Linked DNA regions of Homo sapiens: all the other regions are linked to region 4. The links are contacts of gene promoters, found by promoter capture Hi-C in blood cells and fetal thymus (Javierre and others, 2016). All regions are on one chromosome and are shown on one strand. The core of a region is centred on a gene start or on the middle of the fragment in contact, and the rest is flanking DNA. Distances in the headings are between cores, read along the strand shown.

Region 1 (5,888 bases), core at 2,301-4,800, 3.9 Mb after region 4:
TTCACACCAAAACCTGCCCAACTAACCTTCATGAGTCCTGCGATGCCTGGCTCTTTGCAGTTGCTATGGTAGAAGAAGGCTTCTTCTCCCAGCTTCATGGCTCTAAGGAAGTTCCGAGCCTGTCCCGGGAGAAGAAAGAGTAACTATCCTCCCACCAGCTGGAAAGTACTAGCTTTTAGCAGAAATCAAGTCTGCTTTTAATAGATGGGTGATTCTTGTCTGCAACTCCTCAATTCATTAGAAAGTCCTTCCCCTTTGCCAGGACACCCAGACTTTTACCAGGACATTGGCCAGAACACAGGCCAATTGAAAATTTCATGCAGAGTACTTAAGGCATTTTTTAATACATTATCAGGTTTGCTTCTGAGAAAAAGCAACCTTGGCCAAGAGGTTCTGCTACTGAGTACGTCATGAGGAGGAGGCAGGCATTCATCCCACCTGGGTCTCAGGCGACCTCCTCCTTACCCTCTTACCTGGTAGTTACGAACACCATCCCAGCATGTTGTCTGTTTGGGCTGTGCTTTGAGATCCTCAATGCTGAACTAGGCAAGAGGAAATAAATTCAATCATTAAACAATCCTTGGCCAGTTAGTAAGCACATATGGAAGCAGACAGTTCCTTCCCCTAAAATGAGAGGGGCCACTGGCTATAGAGGAAGTATGTAGTTCACCGGGAAGTGGCTCCACAGAGACACTTTTGCTGGGTGAATGTAAGTAAGCCTTGTGTTACCTTGTTATCCTTGCTAATTATGAGGATTAGCTGAATGAATAATCTAGGTGATAAAGTAATCTGCTAGTTACTTGCATTTTACTTTATATTTATAATAGTTCTGCTTATATTTTTCCCAGGCTATATTAAATTCCCTGAAATATACATCAACTGTTGGCAGGGAGACACCTAGGAGCATGGCAGGTGTTCAGAGAAAGGTAACCTAAGATTGAGGTTGGCAGACTATAGCCTTCAGGACAAATCTAACCCCATGCTGGATTTTGTGAATAAAGTTGAACTTGAACACAGCCACAGCTGTTTACTTATTATCTGTGGCCACTCTCTTGCTACAAGGGCAGGGTTGCAACAGAGACTGTAACACGCACAAGCCTACAAAATTTACTATCTGGCCCTTTGTGGCAAAGGTTAGCCAACCCCTGCCCTAGATACACAGGTTCACAAACCAGCTGATGATAATAAACCCTGCCGATTTTATTCATTTTTACCTTTTTCCTTCCCTTCAAAGATAAGAAGCTGGGGATGGAACCCTATGGTGTCCCATATTCACTTCTCATTTAAAAAACACCATGAAGGGACTGGAGACAGGTCAAGGGTCTCACCTTCACATCTACACCTTTCTCTAGGCGGCTCTCTGGCTCTGACTTCATCAGCCAGTGGCTGCTTAGATTCTTCAAACAGTTTTTAGTGGCTGAAGTCTTCTGAGGGTTGGAGTCCTCCACTTTAGCTAATGCCTCACCTGAGTTCTCAGTTTTGGTGCGTTTTCCTGATAGTCCCTTGTCTGCAATAGGAGAAGCAAAAAGAAAAGATCATGCTTGTTAAAGGCAATGTTTCATAATGGAAAAAGCTTAGCTTTGGAGTCAGACCTGGATTCAAATCATGGATCCATTACCAGCTGTAGGAACTTAATCTTACTGTTAAGAAGCTTTCCTTATCTATAAAAATTAGACAAGAATACCTACCTTACAGGGTATCTTCTGGATTATCTATTCAATAGGGTAAGAACACCTTACAGGGTTGTTCAGGATTAAAGGTCCGGACAGTAGTCAATACATGTTTTCCTTTCCTCACTCTCTCTTCTATGCCTTTGCATAGGAAAGAGGAAACTGAGCACCTACTTGCAACTATTTTGAAGCTTAAATGAGGTAATACAAAGGGCCTAGACAATGCCTGGCATTACAATAAGTGCATAATAAAAGCATTATTATTCTCATCTCATACGTCTTTCCTTCTTGCTCACTGTGGCTCCTGGCCCATCTCCTTTCTGCTCCTTGAAGGTGCCAATAAAAGTTGAAAGAAACAGTTCATTCAGGACATTGTAGAAAAATGGTGATGATTCGATTTCATCCCAAGACAATCAGAATGTGCCTGGAACACAGTAGGCATTCAGTAGCTAAGTTGTTAAATTACTATATGACAGGGCCCAAGGTCTATGTGTTACCCTAACCCTAACTCGGTTAATCTACATAACCTGTGAGATGTTCTACTCTTCATCTGGGAAGCATGCTCCAGATCACACATCCAGTAATGGTGGAATCAAGATATGAGGTCAGCACCTGTCACTGAGGTCTATCTGAAGCTACTTAATGACTATACTGCCTCTGAATTTAGTCAAAGTCCCTACATCAATTGTCATTAAATACCATTTATGGCTGTCTAATGCTCTGAACCCAGCATACCTTCCTAACCTAGTTTCCTAATGGCCCCTTAGGAGTTAACAGGCCCACTGCAAACACCACATATTGATAAATAACTGCAATGTGCTGTAGTATATCTGGAACCCCTGTCATTCCCAAAAGAGGTACTTTCTGTACCTTCCAATGTTCCTCCTCCTCCATCCACTTAGAATGCCATCCATCTTTGTGATTATAAAAACGACATCACGTTTTCTTAGTACTAAACTTTGCCCGTGGAAAGTCTCCCATTCTTCAAGGCTGGGCTCAAATTCCACATCCTTCTCGAGGCCTTCCCCGTGATTCCTCCCTCCATAAACTTAACAATCCATTTTCCTGAACCCCATCACATCTGTTTGCAGTTCACCCGCAAGCAGGCGCTTTATATTCTTTAGCACGCCACCTGGTATCTCAAAGAGTCTTTGTGCACAACAACCATTGCCTGAATAAACAAGAAAAAGGAACTGTAGGTAGGAGCTTGGTGAGACAAGTAAAGAAGATGGAGAGTGATTAAGGATAATGGAGTAAAAATATCACAAAGGGTTCTCAAAAAGCAGGGAGTGAAAAATGAGTACTAAACAGGCTCTTCGAGAAAAGTTTTTTCTTGGGCTGCCTTTGTGCAGCCTAGGGGCAGCTCACCTGAACCAGAAGTCCCAGCCAGCCTCTTCCGGGGTCTCGACATGGTCACGCTGCAGGGGACTTTAGTGCGGACGATTCTGGAATCAACGGAGATACAAGAAAGAATGCTAATGTCCTCCAAAACCCGCGCAGAGCGAGATGGAGGCAACGAGAGGCAGCCTAGAACGTCTCCAACTTTTGCGAAACACAGACGCCTACGTTTGAGCCCTCAAATCCTTCCCTCCGTTATCTGCGCCATTTCCATCTCGCATAACCTGCCCCTAAACTCTTCTCGGTTCTGTCCTTGGTCCTTCTCATCCAGGAACCCCTATCTCAGTATGTAGTTCACTGGGAAGTGGCTCCACAGAGACACTTTTGTTGGGTGAATATAAGTAAGCCTTGTGTTACCTTGTTATCCTTGCTAATTAGGATCAACTGAATGGATAATCTAGATGATGAAGTAATTTGCTGGCTACAGACCCAACACTCTGCAGACTCGACTGCGGTCCGCCTCCGCTGCGCCGCAGGCTGTGCAGCGCGACCCCCGCGGCGCTTGGTGGGCGGTGCATCTCTGCGGCGCCGAGGCCCCGAGGACTTCTGGGAATTGTAGTCCTGTCCCCTTGGGAGCCCGCCTGGCACCTGGGTTGTTAGGGCTCGTGGGAGGACTACAACCCCCAGGGTGCAGTGGGACAGGCGTTGCCGGGTCGCAGGTCCCGCCAGTGCGAGCGCAACGGAGGTCGAAGGCGTTCAGACTCTTAGCTGAACGCGGAGCTGCGGCGGCTATGCTGTGGAGCGGCTGCCGGCGTTTCGGGGCGCGCCTCGGCTGCCTGCCCGGCGGTCTCCGGGTCCTCGTCCAGACCGGCCACCGGAGCTTGACCTCCTGCATCGACCGTAAGGATCTCCTGGCGGGCAGTAGGACAGGTGTCCAGAACCCCGGCGGACATATGTCCGCGAGGGGCTGCAGTCTCCCCGTTCCATCCAGTCACCCCGGCGTCAGCTCCCCTTCCGGCCAGTCACCCCCCCGGCCTGGCTCCCTACTCCGGCCGGTCACCCCCGGCCTGGCTGCCCCCTCCGGTCGGTCACCACCATCCGGGTCCCCATCTGGCCCGTCACCCCTGCCCGGGTCCTCCTCCGGCCGGTCACCCCCGCCCCGGTCCTCCTCCGGCCGGTCACCCCCGCCCCGGTCCTCCTCCGGCCGGTCACCCCCCGCAGGTTCCCCTCCGGCCGGTCATCCCCCCGCAGGTTCCCCTCCGGCCCGGGTCCTCCTGCGGCCGGTCACCCTCGGATGCTTAGAGAAGTGAAGAAACTTGGGGCTTGGTTGTTGTTGGGTTGGTTGGTTTTTAATCATAACAGTAGGTCATAAAAGCAGTGAGAATATAAGAAGCTGGCTGGGTGCTGATGGTGACAACTGCACAAGAACTCCAGGTCATACAAGATTTGCTCACACACAAAGATTTGGTATCTTAACACCTCTGGCTATAAGACACTTTTAGTGTTGAAACTCATGCAGGAAAAATAATTATTATTGCCAGTGGGAAACTCTACCAGAGCTGACAAACTTGAGTGTCTTTAGGCTCTGAACAGTAATTTGAATGTAGCGAGGAGTGGTGGAGACCCGGCCAGTTTGTGACTTCTCTGCCAAGAATGTTTATAAACACTTTTTTCTTCTGAAATATTTTTAAATTTATTTTAAATAAATGGCAGTTTTCTTTACAACAGAATAAGTCCCTTAGATATCAGATCTATAAAGTACAGTAAGGCATAGAATACTGTTTTCTTCTGAATGTCCTAAAACTCATTCAAGAGGTGCTGCCCTGGCCTAGCGCTTAGAATTTGATAACCCAGATTACCCTGGTTGATACCGAAGCAGATAAGGAATTATTTAGAGGTGGGTTTTGTTATTGTTTGCATCTTGCTTACACTTGAGTGGCTCTGCAGTCAAAGGCTTTTCCCATTTCATTTGGAGTGTTTTTCTATTTAGCTTTACCTTTTTAGTGTATATGTATTGGCATCTTGAGCTCTGCTAGTAACTATGTATTGGCATCTTGAACTCTGCTAGTAACTGGCAAAGTTCATGAGTGGTGGTATTTGTTTTGTTTTTATACTGTATTTCCTTCTGGGAACTTGTGTTTACTTATGCATATGATTTGCATAAAACTATTTCCTTCCATTAGAATGCAACTCAGATTTATTTCTTAAGCCTGTGGTTCCTTGAACTATTTGTTTTAGGAAGTAGCCATTTACAGAAGAAGAAGATTTGTTAACATTTAATGAGCTCTTGCTAGGATTGAAATAGTCATCCTTTGTGTGAATGGATCTTATTTATTTATTTTTTTGAGATGGAGTCTCTTTCTGTTGCCCAGGCTGGAGTACAGTGGTGCGATCTCAACTCACCGCAACCTCTGCCCCACGGGTTCAAGCAATTCTTGTGCCTCAGCCTCCCAAGTAGCTGGGATTACAGCACATGCCACCATGCCCAGCTAATTTTTATATTTTTAGTAGAGACGGGGTTTCACCATGTTGGACAAGCTGGACTTGAACTCCTGACCTCAAGTGATCCACCTGCCTTGGCCTCCCCAAAGTCTGGGATTACAGGCATGAGCCACTGCGCCTGGCTGGATCATATTTATTTTTGTAACCCCAGCACTGCTACCTAGTAAACACCCAATAAACATTCTTTTGGAAATGATCTTTGAGCCATGGTCTACAGTAACAGCAACCCTTGTACAAAATTGTGTGAATAAATGGCCTGACCCCAGTCAGAGAACCATGAATTGTTTATCCCTAACTCTGTTCCTGAGGGTAATACCCAACATAGGTTTCTGCTCTGAGTTTCTCAAGGCAGCCTAATCGTTAATCCTCAGAACTCTT
Region 2 (5,689 bases), core at 368-2,867, 4.1 Mb before region 4:
CATGAGGCCTTCGAGAAGCATTAAATAAGAGTGATTAGGAGGATAGACTTCGGGGTTAGACATTCCTGGGGTTCTACTCTACTCTTCTTACTAGCCATTTTTTTGACCTTGGACACATTACTTCTCTTTCCAACTTTGCTTTCTCGTTATAAAATGTAAATATCTGGAAAACAACTTCATTGGGGAATGGAAAGGCAAAAAACTGTTGCGAAAATAAAGAGAGAAAAAAATTATACAAACACTTGGTGATGTGATTTAATTCCTTGTCTTTGTGAACAACTATCTCCGTATCTCCCCAAAAAGCATTACCTTCTTCTAGCTAAAATGGGCCTTTTCCCTCTTTCACAAATGCATTTTTTAAATCAATCTTTCCTGATTCACTTCAGCTGTCCCTGACAACTACATGCAACATCTGTTGAAAGACATTTGAAGGTCCACTAAATTCCAGTCACTCTGGGGTTGTATGTTACATATACTCCAACATACATACACACACACACACACACACACACACACACCCCCTTTTTTCTTATGTATCATTTTCTCATTCCCAGTTCTGATGGAAGATAACCTTTAGTCTAGAACCACACAGCCTTTGTATATCTCTACAGCGATCCCTGTAGTCTGCACACAGCGTATTCTACGAATTGCTTACTGTCAGATGTTTAGAAAGGGAGGACTGTCTTATTTATTTATTTCTGTGTTCTCGGTGGTTCCTTATATTGGACGGTAGTTTACAAAAGTTTAATTAATTTGAATGCAAGGCTTTAGAGTGCACCACAAGTAACGTCTCAGTTTTCCTCGGTTGTAGCAGAAAGCAGCTGCAGGTTCCTCCACCTTTCCCGCGTGGTCCTTACCATGCACAGGGAGACCGTAGGGCTTATTGATGACCACAAGGTTCTTGTCCTGGTGGAGAATTCCTCGGGTCAGTGCCTTAGCAAGCACGTTGGGGTGGACTCGCTGCAGCTGCCGTGTGAACCGCACTATTTCTTGCACTCTCCGCTGAACAGCGTTTGTGGACACCTAGGGAGAAAGAAGGAGCCGTGGGGAATGCCTGGTGCGGAAGCCGTGGAGAAGACCTTCCATAAAGGTCTGGGTGAGAATCTGAGTAGGGAATGACTATCTTTGCATCAGACCCGCGCCGCCTTCGACTAATTTGAGAGCAGAGATACCCATCTGTCTAACCTGCGTACCGACGCAGTGGTTAGGACTGAGCCTGACAGTAGCCAAAGATCCAGCTCACGGGAAAACACCGTACCCTTACTGACCCCTCCCCTCCGCCTTCTCCCCATTCTCCCACCTTGCGTCCGGGCTATTGACTCACACGCTTTCACTCAGAGGACCCTCCTACCTACTCCCCGTCTGGGAAACCAATGAGCGCACTGCCTCTAGGGAGTTCTGGTCCCTTTGGACTCACCGGCTCCTTCTTTGTGTCTTGTTCCCGTTTCTGGGCTCGGAGCTTCTCCGCTAATCTCTGGGCATTTATGGCCGTAGAGGCAGCGGCAGCGGCACAAAATGGCTTTGAGACGAGAGTGAAGAGACTCCCGCAACCTTGGCCGTTTCCCCGGATCCAGGGGCCCGACGCGCTCCACCTGGGCGCCGCCATCTTACAAGGAAGGGCGGGGCGAGCCAAGACCACGTGGAGAAGGGCGACTACAATGAGGCGGGAGTGGGTGGGCCCTGCAGGTCACGTGGTGCGGGGTGGGGCCTGGGCGAGTCACGTGGGGACGGTGCGCGCTCAGTGCGGCTGCGCCGGCCGGTAGCTGCAGCTGGAGCAGTGGCGTTTGGAGGAGACTCGGTGAGTGTGTAGGGAAGCCGGGCTGGGGCTGGGAAATGCCGGTGCCTCAACGGTTTAACGTTTTCTGCGTCCCCGGGATTTCCGTTCAAGAAGAGCACTGGTCTGAGAAACGTTTCTCCTTTTGGTACACGATCCCACTCAAAAACTCCTCCCCGCCCCCGCGCCCCCTTAGGAGCGATGTCCCATAAACGCTCGCCCCAGAGCCCTCCTAGGCACCGACGCCGTCCCTCTTAGCCACTGAATCTCCGGTGATCCGCCAGTCCCCTGCGGGACGCGTCGGGGACCCTCTTGATCGGATGCCCGGATCTCTGTAGTCTCTCCACCCTTCATCTTCCAACTCCCAGCCTCTTTGTTTCGCGTTGTAACCTGTACCCTTCTCCTAAGGATGACGGCCCCTTCCCTTATCCAGGGCCCCCAGCACCTATTTCCTACTTAGGAAGCACTGTGAGTGTTTTTTCTGCCCTTCCTCAAGAATTCATTTCTTGGGGGTCTCCTCCCTACCTTCCCTACTCCTCCTAAAGAAAAAGCTGAAAGAACGGAGCACAGACCTTCACTTTTCCTGTTTCCTTTATTTTTCCTCTCCATAGTTTGCAACCACACCATACCTCCTCTCACGAGATGCGATGTTGGGATTCCCTTGCCCGAACTGCAGGCGACTCCCTCTGATTTCACTCAGGGGTGGCTGGGAAGATAAACATCTGTTTGGGATGGTAGTGTTAAAAATAACTTGGGATATACCTGCCATTTGTTAAGAGGAAAGCTTATGCTGAGTTCAGAAAGAATGTCCTGAAAACTAATGGATCTGTGACGATAGAAGGAACAATTTTTTAAGACTGCTTGGAATGAAGGCTGCCTGAGGAGTTATTAGAGAATAGGTAGTTGAATTAGATTTGGGTTCTACACCTCCTAAAGGGTTTGGCAGAAGGGAGCCGTACCAACAAGAAACAAAGTTGATCAGGTGGAGCTACTCATAGAAGACTCAAGTTGAAGAGTTTGAACTAGAGGTGATACGTAGTGAGGAGTCTTTGAAGCTTTTCGAGTAGGGCAGAGAGACTCCTTGAAAGTGGAATTCTGGAAATGAATCTGGCAGTTGAATGCAGGACAGATGGGGAAGGAAAGGGTTTGATAGTGGGGAAGGAAAGGGTTTGATAGTAGGAAAACTAGTTACAATCTAGGTGGTCAGTGATGAGGTCTGGTCTTTTCCCCCTACACTGTAACTCCTTTGAGTTTGAATTAATTGAGTTATGCAGGTCAAGGCGTACTCTTGGCAGCTGCTGTTGATCTGTGAGTCCCTGGAAGAATTTTTTTTTTTAATCCACTCACCTGGCACATAGTAAACTCGATATCTGTTAGATGGCTGAAGTGCATCATAAATGTATGCTAGGTGTGTCTGAACATTTTGAATTGTCTTATTTCTGTCAATGTTTGGCCTGAAGAATGAAGGTAGAGGAAGATGTATTTGTAAAGTGGGAAAGAAGCAAGGCTTGTGTACGTTTCTCTTATAAGGCAGGTGTAAATGCAGATCCAGATACAAATGCAAAGATTTCCAAGGGAGATTGGGAAACATCTGTTTCTCCTGTTCCCCACCCACCCCCTGCAAATTTACCAGTAAGACAGAGGTCTATAAAAGTTGAGAAATTCCACCCTAAAAGAATTATTACCTTCCATGCTCCAGACCTAGGTTCTAATTTCACTTGAACATCACATATTACTTAGATACTTGAAGCTCAATTTTCCAAGGACCCTGAAGTTTTGACATCGGGACTTAAATTCATATCATTACATTAATTAAAAACTTGTTTTGGGTACAGGACTTTTATGGTTTTGTGTCGGGGATGGGAGAGGCTGTTTCTACCCTAACCTTATGGCATTCAAGAAACTACACCTGTTCTTGCAGAGTTGGCCTTCTGTGGCGGGAAACAAAATGAAGAACCAACTCAAATGTCATTGCTAGTGACACAGAGCTTATGCTCTAGGGTTTCAGGTTAACTCAAAGCACACACTTAGTGACTTAAGAATAAAAATATTGGTCCCTTTTTTCTGGAGAAGGAACTTTTAGGTTTGTCTTGTTGAAACTTTGTAGAGAAATTTAAAGAATTCAAAGTTTTTGTTTGGTATGACAGTGCAGCTTTAGCCAGTATGGGTACATAAGTTATGACATCCTTAATGTTTCTCCGGTGAGTCTAGGCACTTGGTGATTTAAAGTAGAGTTGTTCTCAGTATAAAGAATTTATGTGGCCGGGCGCGGTGGCCCACGCCTGTAATCCCAGCACTTTGGGAGGCTGAGGCGGGCAGATCACGAGGTCAGGAGATCGAGACCATCCTGGCTAACATGGTGAAACCCCCGTCTCTACTAAAAATACAAAAAAAAAATTAGCCAGGCGCGGTGGCAGGCGCCTGTAATCCCAGCTACTCGGGAGGCTGAGGCGGGAGAATGGCGTGAACCCGGGAGGCGGAGCTTGCAGTGAGCCGAGATCGCATCACTGCACTCCAGTCTGGGCAACACAGCAAGACTCCATCTCAAAAAAAAAAAAAAGAATTTATGCAAATGTCATGTCTTTTTTTTTTTTTTTTTTCCAATTTTCAAAGAGCAATAATCACCCCTCAGATAAACCTCATTGGCTGCAATACTGCCACTGCAAAAAACTCTTTTGTTTCTGTTTTTTTTTTTTGTTTTTTTTTTGTTTTTTTTTTTTTACCTCTATATTGCCTCCTCCCTGTTCCTCATTCAGCTGGTCCTTTTTTAGGCAGTTCACTTTTCCACTTCTGCGCCAATGTCACAGTCCATTTGTTGGGAACTCCTCTTGTCTAAATGTTTTCTTAGAACAAGGAAGGAAATTCTATTAGTGATTTCTTCATTCTTGCAGACTACGGCTCTGTTCAAACATGACTTATTTACATTGATTTTGATATATCATAATATGTGCCCCTAAAGTAACCATATAAAGAAGAACTTGATAGTTTCTTTTTAAAGATATTTCCTAGTCTATTCAGGAACAAAAAGGCTGCATTAGTATTTCGCAAATATAAACAAACAAGGACTAACTAATAAAGGAACTTGCGTTTATCACAAATTTAAGGTTAATTAGTGGTATAAAGTTAAGTTACGCCTCCTCAAACTGTGATTTGCTAGTTGCAGATTAACCAGCGATTCCATTTCCTTGAAGAGCAGGAAGTACTTGGACATTGTTTTATGGTTTTAGAGAGATTAAAGGAGGCAATTAGCAGGAACTCTTGGGAGGTGCCCTGGAAAGTACAGTCATTGGGAGCCAGGAGATGTGGGACTAGTTCCAGTTCAGCCGCTGCGTACTTGAACAAATAATTTGGGCTTCAGTTTTTTGTCATTTGAAAGATTTTTGCAACTCTGTTTCTAGTCTATGAAGATTTTCCACTGATACTGAAATACTTCTCTTTCAGCCCGAATTAGTGGGATTTATTTCAGATTTATCTTGAATACATTTAGCATTGATACTAAGAAACTGGATTCTGCTCTTGTCCCCAGAATTTAACTTTTTGCCACTGAGCTAATGTTTATGTTTGGAGGTTACTTCATTGAGTGGTGTTGGAATATACTTTTAAGATTTCTGGCCAGGCGCGGTGGCTTACGCCTGTAACCCTAGCACTTTGGGAGGCCGAGGTGGGCGGATCACGAGATCAGGAGATGGAGAGCATCCTGGCTAACACGGTGAAACCCTGTCTCTACTAAAAATACAAAAATTAGCTGGGCGTGGTGGCAGGCACCTGTAGTCCCAGCTACTCGGGAGGCTGAGGCAGGAGAGTGGCGTGAACCCAGGAGGCAGAGCTTGCAGTGAGCCAAGATCGCGCCACTGCATTCCAGCCTGGGTGAAAGTATGAGACTCCGTCTCAAAAAAAAAAAAAAAAAAAATGTCC
Region 3 (5,603 bases), core at 2,211-4,710, 4.7 Mb before region 4:
ACCAAGTTCAACTACCTAATTTTGAAGCTCTTTCCAAATAAGATACAAATTAAAAGGGGAAGCATTGCCAGTAACAGGTCCCTAGAGAGCAGTGCCAGCCTGCCTGCAAGAAAAGAGGAGAAACTTCTTAAAAAGTTTTAAGCCTGGGCAACATAAGGAGATTGTTTCTATGAAAAATAAAAATTAGCCAGGTATGGTGGTGTACACCTGTAGTCCCAGCTACTCGGGAAGATGAGATTGGAGGATCACTTGGGCCTGGGAGGTTGAGGCTACAGTGAACTGTGATTGTGCCACTGTACTCCAGTCTGGGCGACAGTGAAATCTTGTCTAAACAAAAACAATTTAACTGGGAAGCACAGTGGTCCTTGAGGACATTTAATATCAGGACAAAGAGCCTATGAATATATCACTGATGTATATAAACCCTAAGGCGTTAATAAAAGCTAACTGTTTAGTGTTATCCATTTAAGGGAACAGGAGGAATTGCATAACTTTTAGATTAGTCATAGTGGTGCTCCTAAGGGATATGCTGTTGTATATTTGTATAGCCAGGGCACTTAGCCTTCCAAACCAATTTATATACCATGTTCTTCAACTGTGGGTGAGATTTAGCCTCAAGATTTGATTTACTATATGTAAGTACATTACTTGATTTCTATAAAGAATCTTTAGTGGAAGAGGTTATTCTGAATTATTTATCAATATGATTAATACCAGTTAGAAATTATTAATGATCTTCCTTTATACTATACATAGGATAACTTTTAACTTGTCGCTACAGTTGTTGCTCTGAGGATCTTAATTTTGTTACTTTCTAGGCTACATGAAGCTATCTTTTTAAAAAGTGTACTCTTCATTTTCACTGTTATTGTGTACTTAGCATAAAAAACTCAAATCTAGGCCAGGTGCAGTGGCTCATGCCTGTAATCCCAGCACTTTGGGAGGCTGAAGCATGCGGATCACTTGAGCCCAGGAGTTCAAGACCAGCCTGGGCAACATGGCTAATGAACACTAAGCATAGTTTTGATGTCTTTCATATTAAAGACTTTCTCAAATTCTTGCTAGTCTGCTCCTCTTTAAGAGTGGGACCCTAGGCAGGGCGCAGTGGATCATGCCTGTAATCCCAGCACTTTGGGAGGCCGAGGCAGGCAGATCACTTGAGGCCAGGAGTTTGAGACCGGCCTGGCAACGTGGGAAAACTCTGTCTCTACTAAAAATACAAAAATTAGCTGGGTGTGGGGTACACACCCTGTAATCTCAGCTACTGGGGAGGCTGAGGCATGAGAATTGCCCAGGAGGTGGAGGTTGCAGTGAGCAGACATCATGCCACTGCACTCCAACCTGGGAGACAGAGCAAGACTGTCTCAAAAAAAAAAAAAAAAAAAAAAAAGAGTGGGACCCAAAAAAGCTGATTGAAAGGTCTGTTTGTAGGGGGTGTAGATGGGGATTAATAATGTGGGTTTCAATCTACTGTGATCTGGCTGGGCTGTTACATTGGGAAATCCATGATACTGATTTTTAGATTTTTATCTTTTGCATAGGTAAGATTCCCTTGAGAAGGCTTGCATATTCTCTTACTCAAGGATGTAAGCCAGGCAGTCAGCTTTCTGGGAGTAGAGTAGGGAAAGAAGTTGTAACAGGCTCAACCTTCAGTGGATAAAACTTAAACTTAATCCCTCCGTTTTCAGTAAGGTGCCCAAGCTTTTAACTGTGCCTAATGGTCTCCAGTTCACATACTGTGCATTTACCCTCTTAAATCTCGTACCAGCTTTGGGGAGGGACAGTTCCTTGGTTACATAGAAAGGGAAGGGATACGGGGATCTATTTGTTTTTTATGTAGCCTTTAAACCTACCCCTTTTAGCCCCATTTTTACCTCCACCTTCAGTTACCTGGTGTCACCAGTTCAACTTGAGCTTTTTCAGAGTTCTGTGATGTTAATTCTGCTTTCCATTGCTAGCTTTGGGATTCATCTTCATTACCTTTCATCTAAAGGCTTTCTGCTTTCCAAAATGTGTCTCATACTCTGTTCTTATGGGTTCTTTTAAATATTGGTATCCTTTACTATTAAAATATTTTAGTGGGCTTTCAGAAGAGAATAGAGGCTATTTCTATGTATTCTGTCTTTAACTGGTATTCTGCTGGAGTCTGTATATCTTTTTTTTTTTTTTTTTCAGGCTAAAAAGACTCCATCAGACACACAGGAAATTTGCAGGTCTTCCTCTTCGTATTCTTTGTTTTCAGCACACAGTGAGGAAACAAGAGAAAATGGGATAAATGATATAAAAACTTGCTTTTATTTTTATACCAGGCCCTGTGGCTCGCTTCTGTAATCCCAGTGACTTGGGATGCTGAGGTAGGAGGATCACTTGAGCTCAGGAGTTCCAGGCTGCAGTGAGCTAAGACTGCCCAATTGCACTCCAGCCTGGGTGACAGAGCAACACACCCTGTCTCCAAAAACAACAAACTGTAAAAAGATTACATGAAGCCTAATCTGTGATGTCATGATTCAAAACTATACACATAAGCATTTTAAGAGTTTTTTCCTTGATTTTTGTTCCTGACTTTGCTTCTTTAAAAGAAATGTGTGTTTTTGTTGTTGGTTGTTTGTTTTTGAGACGGAGTCTTGCTCTGTTGCCCAGGCTGGAGTGCAGTGGCACAATCTCTGCTCACTGCAGCCTCTGCCTCCTGGGTAGCTGGGATTACAGGCACTCGCCATCGTGCCCGGCTAATTTTTGTATTTTTAGTAGAGACGGGGGTTTCACCATGTTGGCCAGGCTGGTCTTGAACTGCTGACCTCAGGTGATCCATACGCCTCAGCTTCCCAAAGTGTTGGGATTACACGTGTGAGCCACCAGGCCCCGGCCTTGAGTAACATTTTATACTTGTTTCACTTTACTATTATCATAATAGCCAGTTATGCTTAGTGTTTGTATGTGGCCCAGTCTTAAGGACTAAGAAAATATATATGTATATATATAAAATATATACATATAAAAAAATATGTTTTTTTCCTACGGAATCATGCTGTTGCCCAGGCTGGAGTGCAGTAGTGCTCACTAACCTCTAACTCCTGGACTCAAACGATTGTTCTGCTTAGGCCTCCCAAGTAGCTAGGGCTACAGGGACACACCACCAAGCCCGACTAATTCCTAAATTTTTTTATTTGTAGAGATGGGGTCTCCCTATGTTCCCCAGGCTGGTCCTGAACTCCTGGCCTCAAGCCATTCTCCTGCCTCGCCTTCCCAAAGTGCTGGAATTACAGGCAGGAGCCACTGCGCCCGGCCAGTGCTGGAGAATGTAATGGAGATGATCCTGCCTATCCCTGAGTTCCAGTCTAGTTTACTGTCAGAGAATACTTATTTCCATTTTTCCTATTTTGTTCTTGAGTCTCTTTCCTCAGAATTTACTTTTCCACTTAAATGACGTACGCAGCTTTTAAATTTGCGTTGTAAGATTTATTTTGGCTCTCCCCGCCTGTTCTTTGCACATTAAAAATGAAAAAGTTTGTAGAACTAAGCTAAGCAGATGGTCTTCCTGCAAAAAGACCGGGCTGAAGTAAAGCATTGTTTTGGAGCTGGTTCACAGAAAAAAGGCAAAACTGGTTATCCTGACTTCAAGCTCCAACATAAACTGCTCGCTTTCTCCGGGAAACTTGCCCCGCCACACACACTTGACTGCGTGGCCAGTTCTTTCGAAGCCTCTCGCTCCCAACACGGAGTTCCTCCCATTTCTTCACAGTCGGCTCTCAGCAGCTGCTGCTGGTTTCTCGGCTCCAGCACCACGAGTACCGCACTCTGAGGTTTACAAAGCACTCTGCTTCACCGACTGTGATCCTCACAGTCCTGTCCGGTGGCCTCACGCAGGTGGCGGTGCAGCCTTTCAGGCCCAGAGCGGCCAGGAGCGAAGCCCGCAGCCCCGCCTGGAAGCGCAGCGCGGTCGGTCGCGCGCCCCTGAGGCTTGGAGGCCTGGGCTTCCCCCAGCAGCGCTCGAGCACCGCCCAGTCGAGCCTCACACCGGATGCCACTTCATATTTGGGCCCAGAGCTCAATTCGCGCCGATGCGGTCCGCCGTCCTTAAATCTCTTCAGCCAGGATCTCTCCCCGACTGCAAAGCAGCCCTGGGCGGGAGCGGCAACATCTCCACGTCACCCTTTTGGAGCCGCCGACATTCAGAGGGGCAGGACACGGGAACGCGCGCTGTCTTGCTTTACGGCGCGGGTGCGCGAGTTTGCGGCAGCGTGACGCCCTCAAGTTTTGGCGGGAAAAGCGCTGCATTTGGATTCCTGCAGTGGTGGGCAAAGGACAGTCCGGTGAGGAAGGGCGGCCGGTAGAGTAGGGAAGGTTTCTAAAGAAGGAGTTCGGGGTCTAGATTAGTGAGGGAGGGCATGGTGGGAGAAAGTTAGCATTGACTAGCGCAGGGGATTGGAGAGACTCCTGCGGAGGGGCGGTTTCGGAGGGTGGAGGAATGGTACCAGGAGGTTCCCGTTGTGGGGGCGGGGGCAGGAGGGACTAACCCGCTGCTAGCTAAGAACCCCAAGGAAGAGTCCCAGCCCTTCCTTTCGCCTCTGGGGGCAGTTTGGCCCCGCCCCGGCCTTTGGGACGGGTGGGGCTGTGGATGGGGATGGGAATTGGAATTGAGCAATTGGGAGGAGGCGCTGCCGCAGGCGTTTTCTGCCCCATACCGCTCCCTATATCCTCTTCCTCTCTTCCCCAGACCCCCACCTCTCCCTCCTCCTTCCCCAGTCGTTCGCCGGAAAGCATTTGTCTCCCACCTCTTCATAACAACAATTAATTTCCTCTGGGGCCTGAGGAGGGCAGAATTTCAACCTTCGGTGTGCTTGGGAGTGGCGATTGTGATTTACACGACAAAATGGTCAGGTTTAGAATAGTTGTTCGTGGTTGAAAGACTTGGATAAATGTGGATGAGATAGAAGGGGAAGGCAAGAGCTGTTAATTTTCGTGGGCAATCCTGGGGAGAGGCGGGGCTCAGTGGCTTCACTGGTGATCTTACACTCTACATCTTTTCTGGATTCCTGCCTTTTACAGCCGAGGTGCTCGGTGGAGTCATGGCAGTGCCCTTTGTGGAAGACTGGGACTTGGTGCAAACCCTGGGAGAAGGTGCCTATGGAGAGTGAGTTCTTTTAAGCTTGCCTTCGTTTTCTGAGTGCATATTCATTGTTTTGGAGTCTCACACTCTGGTGATTTAGAAAGTAGATGTTTGAGATCCAAGGGTTTTGGCAACTGAAGTTACACAGCCTTTTGCTAGGATTAAAAATTTTTTCCTTCCCTTTAAAAAAAAAAGTTTTCTTTGTAGAGAGCTGGAAGGGACACGAAGTTATTGTTTCCATGCCCACAAATTGCTTCTCAGGGTTTAAGCATTGCGGTTAATGAGCAAATGAGCAGACTCTGGAGATTGCCTGCCTGGTTTCAGATCCTTGCTCTATCACATACTGGTCATTGTTTTGTGATCTTAGGCAAGCTTCTTAATGTCATTGTGTACCTCTCCTTCACTACCTTTAGGGTGGCAATAATCGCATCTACCCCATAGGAGCTTAGGACAGTCAGTTACACAAGCACATATAGTATGGGATTAATGCTCTTAA
Region 4 (5,760 bases), core at 2,463-4,962:
TAAGTTTATTATTTTTTTTGGAGACAGGGTCTCACTCTGTCATCCAGGCTGAAGTGCAGTGGGGTATGAACATGGCTCACTGCAGCCTCAACCTCCTGGGCTCAAGTGATCCACCTGCTTCAGCCTCCTGAGCAGCTGGGAACACAGGCACACACCACCACGCCTGGCTAATTTTTTTATTTTTTATAGAGATGGGGTCTCATCATGTTGCCCAGGCTGGCCTTGAACTCCTGGGCTCAAGCAATCCTTCCACCTCGGCCTTTCAACGTCCTGGGATTACAGGCATGAGCCACTGTGCTTGGCCAGTTTATTAACTGTATTAAAAACCAAGATTTTCATTTAAGACAAGAGACAAATATAGAGTCAAGGAAGAAAAAGTCTGCTTGTTAAATAGGAATTGGAATATCACTCTGAACTCATGATTAAACAAGCAAAAACCTTTTTCTTAGTTCTCTCCTCTCAAAGCACCTAGAAGCAATGATACTGCAGCAGCAACGAATATGCCAAACATCCAGAACTTGGTTTCTATATACGATTTCTCATTAAAAAGAACCAAGACTCCCTGGATAAACAGCTCTTTCCAGAGGTGAGCAAAGAAAGTATAAGATAAACCCTGGAGTAACTCGTGTCAGAAAGCACTCCAAGATTAATGGGGAGCAGGGGTGTCAAGACACACAATAGTCAGCTTGAAATGGTTCCTACTGACCAAATCTGGGACAATTTGGTCATTAAAAAGAAAGACGACTGTAACTGGTTATAAAACAAGGAATAAATTAAAACCCATGAGAGTCTGAAGTGGTATCATTCACCCCTGCCCCAAAAAACATCATTGGGGGTGGCTATTTCTCCAGCTCTTTACTATGAATATTGAAAAGTAAAGAGATTAAATTTAACATTTAATTTGCATTTTGGGGAAGAACAATAGTTTACCTGCACTTAATGAAGGAAATCTCTTCCTTACAGAGAACCTCCAATAACTGATTTAAGCAAAAGTCATCATGGGTGCTAAAAACCACTAAGCAAAAGATTGTCAGAAACTGGGTATTTGCTTAGTGTCCAAGTTTTACCCCAAGATTACATATTAATCACAAACTGGCAAACCACACCTTTACAACAGATCAGTAGTCAGCACTTTAATCAAATGGTTACATTTAGCATCATTAATAGTGTGGGAATCTGACATTGTGTGCCTCCTATATTATGCAACAGGAGGTACACAGCATCACCTATTAAATATTCTTGCCAAAGGAAGTTTTACTTTAAGCTAATTAAGCCTTCCTTTACACCTAACTTCCAGTTAATAGGAAATTCAGGGAGAAAGAGGAATAAACGAAATGACATTAGGAGGGCACAAATCCAGAATGTGGGTATATTTTACAAGACAACTGGTTTGGTCAATTACGTGTCAGAAAAAAAGAAGGGAGGGAATATTCATCCTATTTAATTTCCCCTGCAAAAAGAAGAGGGGATGGATACTCTTCATTTTACAAAATGACTAAAGACTTAATCACCAAATGCAATCAATGCATGAATCTTGACTGACTACAACTGGGGGCAGAACCCTCAAAGACACTTTGGAACAACTGAGGAATTTTGAAGATGGAGTTGTTAATTTTGATAGGCATTAATAATGATACTGGGGTTAGTAGGAGAATGTCCCTATTTTTAGGAAACACATGCCGAAATATTTGAGGATTACAGTGTTTGCAGCTTACTTTCAAATAATTACACACATACAGAGAAAGACAGGAAACAATATGGCAAAAATGCTAATCACTGAGTTGGTTATTCATTGCATTGATTAGCATTTTTATTCATTGCATGAATAACCGATCACAATTGTATAGAACGAACCTCTATACGACTAAAATTTTTCATAACAAAGTTAATAAAATTGTACTTCTATTGAGAAGTACGGTAGAAAGTACACGAAAGTACATCTATACTGGAATTATATTTGGGTTGAAATCTAAACTATCTTACTAGTTGTGTGCCCTAAGGCAAGTTGTAATTCTTCGTATCACTAAGTTTGTCACTTCTATAAAATTCAAGTAATAATATCTGCATCATTAGGTTGTTCTGAGAATTAAATAATTACAAATGCAAAAATGCCAAGCAGTACTGCACAAAATGAATAATCTGGTTTTCATAATTAATCAGTACATTACTAATAATCCTAAAATACAAAACTAAAGGACTACGTTCATTATATTCACATTCTATGATAAGGGGAAACTACATTAGGTAAAATTATTATTAATCCACTGACAGTCCAAGTGAAGTAATGGGGGAAATGAAGATTTATACAGTATTTTTTAAACCCAAGAATTCCAACTGAACACCTAGAGAAAAGGAAATCAAAATCGTGCAGCTTGCTTCCGGTATCAGCCGATCTCCAAATAAAGCATTAAGAAAATAAGTGGAAGTTATGGAGAATTTCTTCCTGACTTCAAGAGATTATCTACTTACACGCTGAAAAAGAAATTAAGTTTTTGTCTTCATTTTTGTAAGTTCCAAAAAAAAGCACACAATTACGGGGTTTTATTGTAAATTCTGCTTGGATTCATAGAACTCACATGGACGCAATTTCCTTTTAATCAGTTCTAACGTACCTGTCATTTCTCGAGGTAACCCCTTTTTCTGATTAGGCCAGCAATAAAACGACTAGATGCAGAGTGATCCTCAGGAAGGAAAGGAAAAGAGGTGTGTGTGTGTGTGTATGTGTGTGTGTGTTTGTGTGTGTGTATATATATATATATATATTTTTTTAAAGAAGTGCCATCTTTTTCTTTCTGTACCAGAGAAAAAGCAGAAGGGGAAAGGAGGAAAAAAAACAGGTCTGAGCCTCCCGGGTTCGACCAGGTGAGAGGTGGCAACACTCCGGCCGCTCCGGGTTAGGGTGTTGGGCAAATGGGCGTGCAAAGGACGGGCAGCTCCCTGGAAGGTCGGGGTAACTGCTCCGGGACCGCGGGGCCCAAGGCCGGTCTCCTCCCAGAAGGATTAAATGCCACCGAGGGGATCCCGTGGGGTGTCTCCCGGCGCGGACTAGGCTGACAGACCCGGCTCTCCGCTCCCTTCGGCGCCAGGTGGGGGCCACGCGGTGTCAGCCACGGGCAGCGTGCAGGGGCCGTCCCCCGCGCGACCGGAGCCCGCCCTCCCCTCCCCGTTACCTGCGGGCGGCGGCGCCGGGCCCGGAGGCCTGCTGCTCCTCCTCCTTCTCCCGCCAGGCTGGGGCGGCGAGGCGGCGGCGGCGGCGGCCCGGGGGGAGGGGGCGGAGCGCGGCTCGCTGCCTCTCTCCTCCCCCGGGAGGCTCAGGGGCCCCTATCTCGGGCCGCCGCGCCTAGGCCCGTGAGCAGCCTGTGGTGGGGCATGGCGGCACAGCCACCGGCGTGCCCGCGAGTGGGAGTGCGAGGAGGCGGGGAGGGAAGCACCCCCAGCGCTCGGAGGGGCCAGAGGGGAGGAGCGAGGGGGCCCGGGAGCCGCGCGCTGGCGACCGTTGGGGACGGTTGGCCGAGGGCAGGCGGTTGTTTGGGGAGCGCGGCGACGGCTCGCGTGTTCCCAGCGGGGCGGGGTGGGGAAGGGGAAGGGGACTGAGGGGAGGGGAGGGGGAGGTTGGGAGGGAGCCGCCGCCGCGCGCGTGCGGCCGGCGCCGCCGCCGTTGCCGCTCCGCTCACTCCAGCCTGTTTGGGGGCACTTTGTTTGTGTCCCACAATGCTCTGCGCCGGCGGCCTGGCTGGGGAAGGGGAGGAGAAGGGGGCGGGGCGGAGCGCGCTCGGGGGCGGGGCTCGGGGCGGGGAAGGAAACGTGATGATTGCGCAAGCGCAGAAAATGGGCCCTCTTGGCCGTCGGGACTTGTACTGTTGGTGACTCCGTCTCCTTAGACGGTGGAGCCTGCGTGACCCAGAAAGGCCGTGAGTCTTGACACTGTATTTTTGCATATGTGCGCACATGTGCCGATTTACATTCACATGCCCCATAAGCCCTGTCCCATTTGTCCTTCCTCTAAGCCGTCCTCTTACCCAGTTCCCCTCTCACACCTGAGAAGCATTTCTCCGCAGGAGTCACATTTATAGCATTATTTTTTTCTTCGAACTAAAAACATAACTCCTATTTTCTCGGGTAGTTTTTGTAGGGAGGTCGAAATAGAAACACTTCAGCCCCTCTTCGGCGAGGGAGGTTAGTTGGTAAGGTGCCCATTGTTCACCCATGGAAACAGGCCTGCCAAGGGCCGCCCCGCAGACAGGTGAGCCCGCGCCCCCGTCCTGGGCGGACTGCGACATGCGGCGGGTGTCTGGATTGCGTGGCTCCTCGGGCCTCCTCGCAGTGCTTGCTCTCTTCCGTTCTAGCACTTGCCTCGGTGACCTGGCAGGACGTGCGGTTCTTGAGATGAGTGGAGAAACGGACTCCCAGGTCCCTCTCGTTCTTCCAACACAGGGACAGCTAGAGCTGCTCCAAAAATATACCCTACTTCTTCCACAACCGTGAATCTGTCATTTTTACTGCACCATCACTTACTTCCTGGCCTTCCCGGAGGAAGTGTGCGGGCCTCCCCGAAGTAACCGGTACCGCCCGGGGGGTTTTGAAGTTCTTGGTCAACTGCAAAATCAATCAACCTAGTTAACTCCTAGGGCCCTAAGTCTTGGCTTCCCCTGGCCAGGCGGGCGAGCGCTCTCCACACCGCCCCCGGAGGTCATAGGGGTTCCCGGGACTGCAGGCGGCAGCGCCCCAGGTGCCTGGGGGCGGGCGGGGTGCGGGCAGGTGCTCCTTGGGCGCTTTCTGTTTTCCCACGCCTCCAGTTTGCAAACCGAAAGACTTCTTTCCAGAGGGTTTTGTGCAAGGTGGGTGGACGTCCCGCTGAAGTAGAGTGGATTTTCCTTTTGAAACACTTGGCAACATCTCACATTAATTCACTCTGAGAGACAAGCAGCCAAGCACCTGAACACCCTGACACTTGCAATCTTCTTTAGGAATAAAGGCAATAAAAACAACTTCTGTTTTTATAGTCCTTCGCAGTTTCCAACAAGTTTTCAAGCATGTATAATGTTATCTAATCCTTACGGCAACTGTAATTCACAGGTTTTATCACAGGTTTCTATTATTATTCCCACTATCATTCTTATTATTCCCATTTCAGAGATGAGAAAAATCAGAAAGATGCGAACTAGGCCCAGAAACTTTTGCACTAAGTTTTGAAGAGGGGAAGGGAAAGAAGGCGGAATGCTTACCTGGGAGAGGACTGGCGGCCACAGAGCAGGGCTCAGGAAAGGGCATGAGCTGGGGCCCTGGTGAGGAATGTGTGAGAATGTATGTAGGTGGTAAGCAACTGGACAAGAATCAGGGTGGAAATGAAGTAGTCAAATCCTATCTACCTCTCCTAGTGCCTTTAACAGGATAGTCAATAAAAGACCATGAGGCAAGTCTTTTCTAAGTGCTTCTCCAGGGGCTGTGGTGGCAGCTCCTCAACTACTACACTGACACAAAAATTTGCTTTCCTTTGTAGTACAACTTGAAGTCAGGTAGAGGAATGCCTCTAGCTTTGTTATTTTTGCTCAGAATTGCCCTAGCTTTTCAGGGTCTTTTGTGGTTCCATACAAATTTTAGGATTTTTTTTTCTAGTTCTGTGATGAGTGTCATTGATATTTTGGTAGGGATTGTACTGTACCTGTAGGTGGCTTTGGGTAGTGTGGATATTTTAACAATATTAATTCTTTCAATTCATGAGCGTGAGATATCTTTCCTTTTTTTTTTTTTTTTTTTTTT
Region 5 (5,369 bases), core at 1,131-3,630, 4.4 Mb before region 4:
CGGCGAAACCCCGTCTCTACTAAAAATACAAAAAATTAGCCGGGCGAGGTGGCGGGCGCCTGTAGTCCCAGCTACTCGGGAGGCTGAGGCAGGAGAATGGCGTGAACCCCAGGGGGCGGGGCCTGCAGTGAGCCGAGATTGCGCCACTGCACTCCAGCCTGGGCGACAGCGAGACTCCGTCTCAAAAAAAAAAAAAAAAAAAGAAGGAACAAAAACCTGCCTTTTACATAGTCCTAAAGGATGGGAGAGGTTAACAACATGGATAGCCTCATTACTAAAGGTGTACAACAAATCCAAGTAGCTTTAAAATACTTTCTAACAAATGCCCCAAAACAGTACCATATAACATACAGGATTCAAACTTGTTTTATTTCAGAATTATTTCATTAATATTTTGCCTGCCAGCTGTTATTTCTGGAATACCATTCTTTTTATAATTTGCCCCTGAGATTTTTGTAGGAATTATGCATCATTTGGAAGGGTATTCCTACTCCAGTAGAAATTCAAACTAGTAACATCTGGAATCAGATGCAAACATAAATACCAATATGAACCTAGCCTGTTTGGGTGCAGATCAAAATAGGAATTCTGCTCACCTTAAATTGTAATTTATCTGTTCTTGATATTTCTGACCCAACGGGGACCATCTAAAATCTGAAAGTTGTCAGTTTTAACACCAGAGGCCAGAAGAATGATAGTACAGTTTGCTTGTTCACAGAGAAAAAGTTCTAACATAAAGGTGAATGACCTTGACCGTTACTATCTGCGAAAATCATTTTCCCTGTAACATTTAAAGCCACATAATTCACACATTCACCCAGTTCTATTTGTTAGGCATTTGTCTGGAAAAGAAGTAATCAATGACTCAGGTACATGTAGGATATACTCACCGCAAAAAAGTAGAAACTGCAAACTGTCCACCAACAGTGGAATAGTAAATGTCTTTAAAGACATTAGAATATTAAATAGTCATTGGGAATCTTGGGAAAGTAATATGGGAAGGTGAAATTAAGTGACATGAATGTATCATAAACTATACAGGATGATCTCAGTACACACAGGGAAAGATCAAAACCTAACGAGTAGTGGGATTAAAGGTAATTTGTATTTATACCTCGACTTTTTATGAGGTCAAAAATTACATGGTGATTTTAACATGCAAAACACTCCAGTGATTATTTGGATCTCAAAGTCCAACATTACCAAAGTCTCCAAAGTTCAACTCCCGTGCTAACTAAAGAACTAGGCCAGGGAGTGAGTCTAGTTGGTCATAAGGCAGATTTGTGGCAAAAACAGGACTTGGTACACTACAGTGCTTTTTCCAGCACACCTTACCCTAATTCAGGGTGAAGTGCAGGAGTTCCCAAGCAGACGTTTAAAGTAACACCCTGGCCAGGGCTGCGAAGTAACCACAGAGAGGGAATTCGTGTGTCCCCTAAGCACCAATTACAAACTAAAACGGCCATCACCAGATGTTCCATACATTGGGCCAGGCGCCGTGGCTCACGCCTGTCATCCCAACATTTTGAGAGGCCAAGACGGGGTGGTGGCGGGGGGGAGGGGGGGTCGCTCGAAGTCAGGAGTTCGAGACCAACCTGGGCAACACAGCGAGACCGTGTGTTAATTAAAAAATTAAAAACTAGGCTGCCAAGATGGCGCACGCCTGCAGTCCCAGCTAGTTGGAGGCTGAGGTGGAAGGATCGCTTGAGCCCAGGAGGTAGAGGCTGCAGTGAGCAGTGATCACGCCACTTCACTCAGCCTGGGCGACAGTCTTAAAAAAAAAAAAAAAAAAGTCCTAATCTCAGGAACCAGTGGGTTAACACATAAATAGCATTCCTCTTGATAAACTTTATATTAATCCAAAGGGAAGAAGAGGGAGTACTGTCCAAAGGATTAGCAGACACGCACTATGATCACTAGAAAGCAATCGTGGTCTGTATGTAAGGCAATCCCCAAAATAATTTGAAAATTGCTGCCACAGCCTCCCACATACTCCTGGGTTCTCAACTTCTACTGTTTTATGAGCACCCAATTCTAAGTGGGGCAGCAGAGCACTTTTGTACTCCACAGTACAAGTACCACTGAAGCTCCCGTCACAACGGAATTAAAGACGACCCTACTGCGGCGAGTTTCCACCGAGAGCTCCAGAAAGTACCAGGCACAAAAGAAAAATACATGGTCTTAAGCGAGGTCTCATTTCCATACGGCAATGCTTTCCTGAAAAGACCAAAGTATGTGAAAGAGGGCAAAAAGAAGACAACAGACAACCGTTCAGCAGTGTGTCCATTTGTCCCTTCCCCTGTGGAACCCAGAAAGTAACCCACTCCAAAAATCCCACACTTACTTTCCGGCAGCCGGCCGCGCCGCGTTTCCGAGAAAGGAAGCTGTCACTGTGCGTCTTCTGCGCAGGCGCCCGAGCCCTCATGGGAGGTGTAGTCCAAGTTTGTGGGAAATGTAGTTCTGAGAACCGAGCTTGGTGCTAGAATCTACCTGAGGTTTTCTAGTCCAGCTACCGTTTCTCCGCCCACAGGGCAGAATCTGGGCCTGTGGCGGGACAGCAATAAAAGGAGGAATTGTAGTGCTACGCTAAAATAATAGAAAAAAGGTAATTTTTCAAATTCTGCTATCCTTATACGAAAACTAAAAGATTGAAGATCTTGGCTCGATTTTATACCTAGTTAAATGAGAAGAAAGTTACCATTGAGAGACAAAAACATTTACTATTAGAATTCAAATTAAAAGCTGAAATGAATATGATAATCTCAAAACAAACGACTAGGTGCCCTGAGAGTGACCGAACAGAGCGGGGAGCGTTGCTTCAGCACCACGGAGAGATCATGACTGCAGTTTCGTGTGGGTTTTTGTATTTTTGCCCCCAATTCCAGAAATGCTGATCAAAATCTCAAAATTACAATTAGAAAACTGGGGGGCGGGGGGGAGGTGGAATTTGGTTCTTTCGTCCAAATTGAGCGGTCATTAAATCATTAGTACCAGGGATCCAGGGATCTATACCGGATTATGCAAACGCATGTAGGACGTAGAGGTTATACCGAAAGGTAATGTTTTTAACAAGAGACCACATTTCAGAATAAAAGCTTTAAAAAGCCTATGTGGAACATCACAGGTATCTAGGGCAGGAACAGCAGTTAGAGCTTGAACAGTTCTGCTTCCTTTCCGCAACTGTGGCATTCGAGGTCATTCGTCATATCAAATTCATCAGATTTTGTCTCCACTTTGCTAACCAATTCGCTAACCTTTCTGACATCTTGTGATGTGGAGGCGGAAATTTCCAGGGAAACCGACACGGGGCGTAAAGCGCGGCGGGGAGTCCGGGGGGCTCCCGCCTGGAGGGCTGTGTGAGCGGCGGGCCGCGGGGCGGCGCGGGGGGCGCTCTCCACTCTGCGGAAGCTGCCCCCTCTGCCCTCCGGTCCGCGCCCTTTCGCCCCGCTCTCTGCCCTCCGCCCCGCTCTCTGCCCTCCGCCCCGCTCTCTGCCCCCCGCCCCGCTCTCTGCCCTCCGCCCCTTCCGCGCGCCACCCAGCCTTCCAGCGCCTGCGCGCCGCACCGCGGTGGTCGCGGGCGCGGACGCGGACGCCTGCCCCCTAAGGAAGCCCATTGGCCAGCGGATGGGGCCAGCACCGCCTCGCGCCGGTGGTGGAAGCACGTGCTGGGGGCGGGAGCAGCAATCGCAGCCATGGCGTCGTTACTGTGGGGAGGCGACGCAGGGGCGGCGGAGAGCGAGCGGCTGAACAGCCACGTAACCGCCACCGAGCCGGGGGGCCACAGCCGCGGGGGTGGAGCTCCCACTCGCAGAGGGAGATCGGCTGGGAGGGGAGGGAGAGCCCGCGAGCGTTCGAAGTGGGGCGTCAGATGCTGGAGGGGAGATGCGGGAAGGGTTTGGAAGAGGGCCACAGAGGGAGACCCCGTCCCCACCCCCACGAGAGGCAAGACCTTTGGTTAGAAAGGGCAAAAATGACGACCCCTGGAAATCCAGGGTGGGAACGCAGCTGGTAGTCCCAGCTAGACCCCGAGTTTTCTACTCTGCCCATTTGCCCATTAAGCCTCACCTCGCTTCCATCCATTTGCCAGCGCACTTTCCTAGCCACCCTCCCCTTGTTGGTGCCGTGAGCCCCAAGTACTGCCCAACTCTAAACTAGAGGCCTAGGAAAGAGAAACTGCATGTACAGGGAATACAGAAAATCTCCAATTTTAGGGTAACTCATACAGGAAACCCAACCTTGAAAGGAATCTGCTGCTACCTAATATTGCAAAGGAAGCAATACCCGGGTGTCCTTCCCTGAATCCCTCCCAGCCCCTGTGGTAGGGAAGCACTGGGCTGCTTGAGGGCTTGCATCCTAATATTGGTTGAAATTTGTGTCTCTCAATAGTTTTCAAACCTCAGCCAACCCCGGAAGAACCTTTGGGGTATTAAGAGTACTGCAGTCCGAAACATAGGTGAGTGCTGTTAGGGCAAAGCAGAGCGACCTCAATGATTAAAAAGTATTGTTTTGCTTTCATCACGTCCCTGCCAAGTGAAACACCGCGGATTCATTAGTGTGACATTCAGCACTCTCCATTACCTTCCCAATCGTTTCGTCCATTCCTCCATGAAATGACTCTTCTTGCCAGTAGACACTGAAGAGTCAGGAAGAAAAAATTGAATAGCATGCTTTACATTTGTGCTCAGCATTTGTCTTTACTTGTATTGTTTCTCTTCCATCCTTTCCAGATGGTTCTATTAATAACATCAATGAAGATGATGAAGAAGATGTAGGTAGGAGATGAATTCATTTGCATGTATCTACTAGCATTCTGTTTCCGTTTATAACTTTAATAGTGTGAGTGAATAATATAATCTCAATTGGAAAAGGCCTGTCTTTGCTTCTGTTTTCTTATAGTGACTATCAGGAGACACACTAAATTAGGAGTAAGGTGTATTTATTTAAAGGAAGTTGAAATGGAATATGCAGGGATTGGGTTCAGAACTTCCATCTGTCAAGGATTTGGTCTCATGGAGATGGACTTAGGCTACTTTGAAGTTAGAGGATGGTGAAGTAACAGAGCGTAAGAAACTGAATCCTCATAAAGAACGAATCCTCAGTGCTATATCATTCTTTCTGGAACCCTCTTTTAGAGGAAAAATGAGCGTAGGTGCAATTGCTTGGTATACAACCACTGAAAGAGAAAGAGCAACTTATTTGATGTCATTCAGGAAGCTTGATGTCCTCTTTTTTATTTTTGCTTTTCTAGTGGATTTGGCAGCTAATTCACTCTTAAACAAGTTAATCCATCAATCCTTAGTAGAATCCAGTCACCGTGTGGAAGTTTTACAGAAGGATCCCAGCTCTCCACTTTACTCAGTAAAGACATT

Evidence for each region. The method cuts DNA at HindIII sites, captures the fragments that hold promoters and counts their contacts. A CHiCAGO score of 5 or more calls a contact.
Region 1: a contact is called between the fragment with the promoter of THYN1 here and the fragment with the promoter of ZBTB44 in region 4, in 1 of 17 cell types (erythroblasts). The highest score is 6.8, in erythroblasts.
Region 2: a contact is called between the fragment with the promoter of RPUSD4 here and the fragment with the promoter of ZBTB44 in region 4, in 11 of 17 cell types (neutrophils, total CD4 T cells, activated CD4 T cells and 8 more). The highest score is 16.5, in neutrophils.
Region 3: a contact is called between the fragment with the promoter of CHEK1 here and the fragment with the promoter of ZBTB44 in region 4, in 1 of 17 cell types (fetal thymus). The highest score is 14.4, in fetal thymus.
Region 5: a contact is called between the fragment with the promoter of PUS3 here and the fragment with the promoter of ZBTB44 in region 4, in 7 of 17 cell types (fetal thymus, non-activated CD4 T cells, naive CD8 T cells and 4 more). The highest score is 12.2, in fetal thymus.

What each region holds. Positions count from the first base shown.
Region 1 is chr11:134,249,802-134,255,689 of GRCh38, forward strand. It overlaps THYN1 (thymocyte nuclear protein 1), which reads right to left and starts at 3,551. Exons shown (of 7, transcript NM_014174.3): 1 at 3,039-3,551; 2 at 1,329-1,507; 3 at 474-542; 4 at 27-119. The coding sequence starts at 3,081. ACAD8 (acyl-CoA dehydrogenase family member 8) reads left to right here and starts at 3,767. Exons shown (of 11, transcript NM_014384.3): 1 at 3,767-3,908. The coding sequence starts at 3,800. RefSeq lists an enhancer at 3,312-3,681. The HindIII fragment of the contact is 5,608 bases long and covers 1,860-5,888 here.
Region 2 is chr11:126,210,033-126,215,721 of GRCh38, forward strand. RPUSD4 (RNA pseudouridine synthase D4) reads right to left here and starts at 1,618. Exons shown (of 7, transcript NM_032795.3): 1 at 1,418-1,618; 2 at 858-1,023. The coding sequence starts at 1,606. It overlaps FAM118B (family with sequence similarity 118 member B), which reads left to right and starts at 1,750. Exons shown (of 9, transcript NM_024556.4): 1 at 1,750-1,798. It also overlaps the pseudogene RNU4-86P. RefSeq lists an enhancer at 1,403-1,632. The HindIII fragment of the contact is 5,382 bases long and covers 1-2,556 here.
Region 3 is chr11:125,621,703-125,627,305 of GRCh38, forward strand. CHEK1 (checkpoint kinase 1) reads left to right here and starts at 3,461. Exons shown (of 13, transcript NM_001114122.3): 1 at 3,461-4,310; 2 at 5,047-5,131. The coding sequence starts at 5,067. LOC118567325 (a long non-coding RNA gene) reads right to left here and starts at 4,192. Exons shown (of 1, transcript NR_170378.1): 1 at 3,435-4,192. It overlaps STT3A (STT3 oligosaccharyltransferase complex catalytic subunit A), which reads left to right. Exons shown (of 18, transcript NM_152713.5): 18 at 1-1,389. RefSeq lists enhancers at 3,627-4,136, 4,953-5,496, 5,057-5,106. The HindIII fragment of the contact is 3,445 bases long and covers 1,700-5,144 here.
Region 4 is chr11:130,311,205-130,316,964 of GRCh38, forward strand. It overlaps ZBTB44 (zinc finger and BTB domain containing 44), which reads right to left and starts at 3,713. Exons shown (of 8, transcript NM_001301098.2): 1 at 3,171-3,713. It overlaps ZBTB44-DT (ZBTB44 divergent transcript), which reads left to right and starts at 3,789. Exons shown (of 7, transcript NR_148980.1): 1 at 3,789-3,911. RefSeq lists enhancers at 2,867-2,916, 4,077-4,176, 4,347-4,446 and silencers at 3,007-3,836, 4,747-4,806. The HindIII fragment of the contact is 9,181 bases long and covers 1-5,760 here.
Region 5 is chr11:125,900,826-125,906,194 of GRCh38, forward strand. It overlaps PUS3 (pseudouridine synthase 3), which reads right to left and starts at 2,381. Exons shown (of 4, transcript NM_031307.4): 1 at 2,345-2,381. It overlaps DDX25 (DEAD-box helicase 25), which reads left to right and starts at 3,683. Exons shown (of 12, transcript NM_013264.5): 1 at 3,683-3,755; 2 at 4,387-4,453; 3 at 4,728-4,772; 4 at 5,249-5,369. The coding sequence starts at 3,693. The HindIII fragment of the contact is 3,679 bases long and covers 1-3,093 here.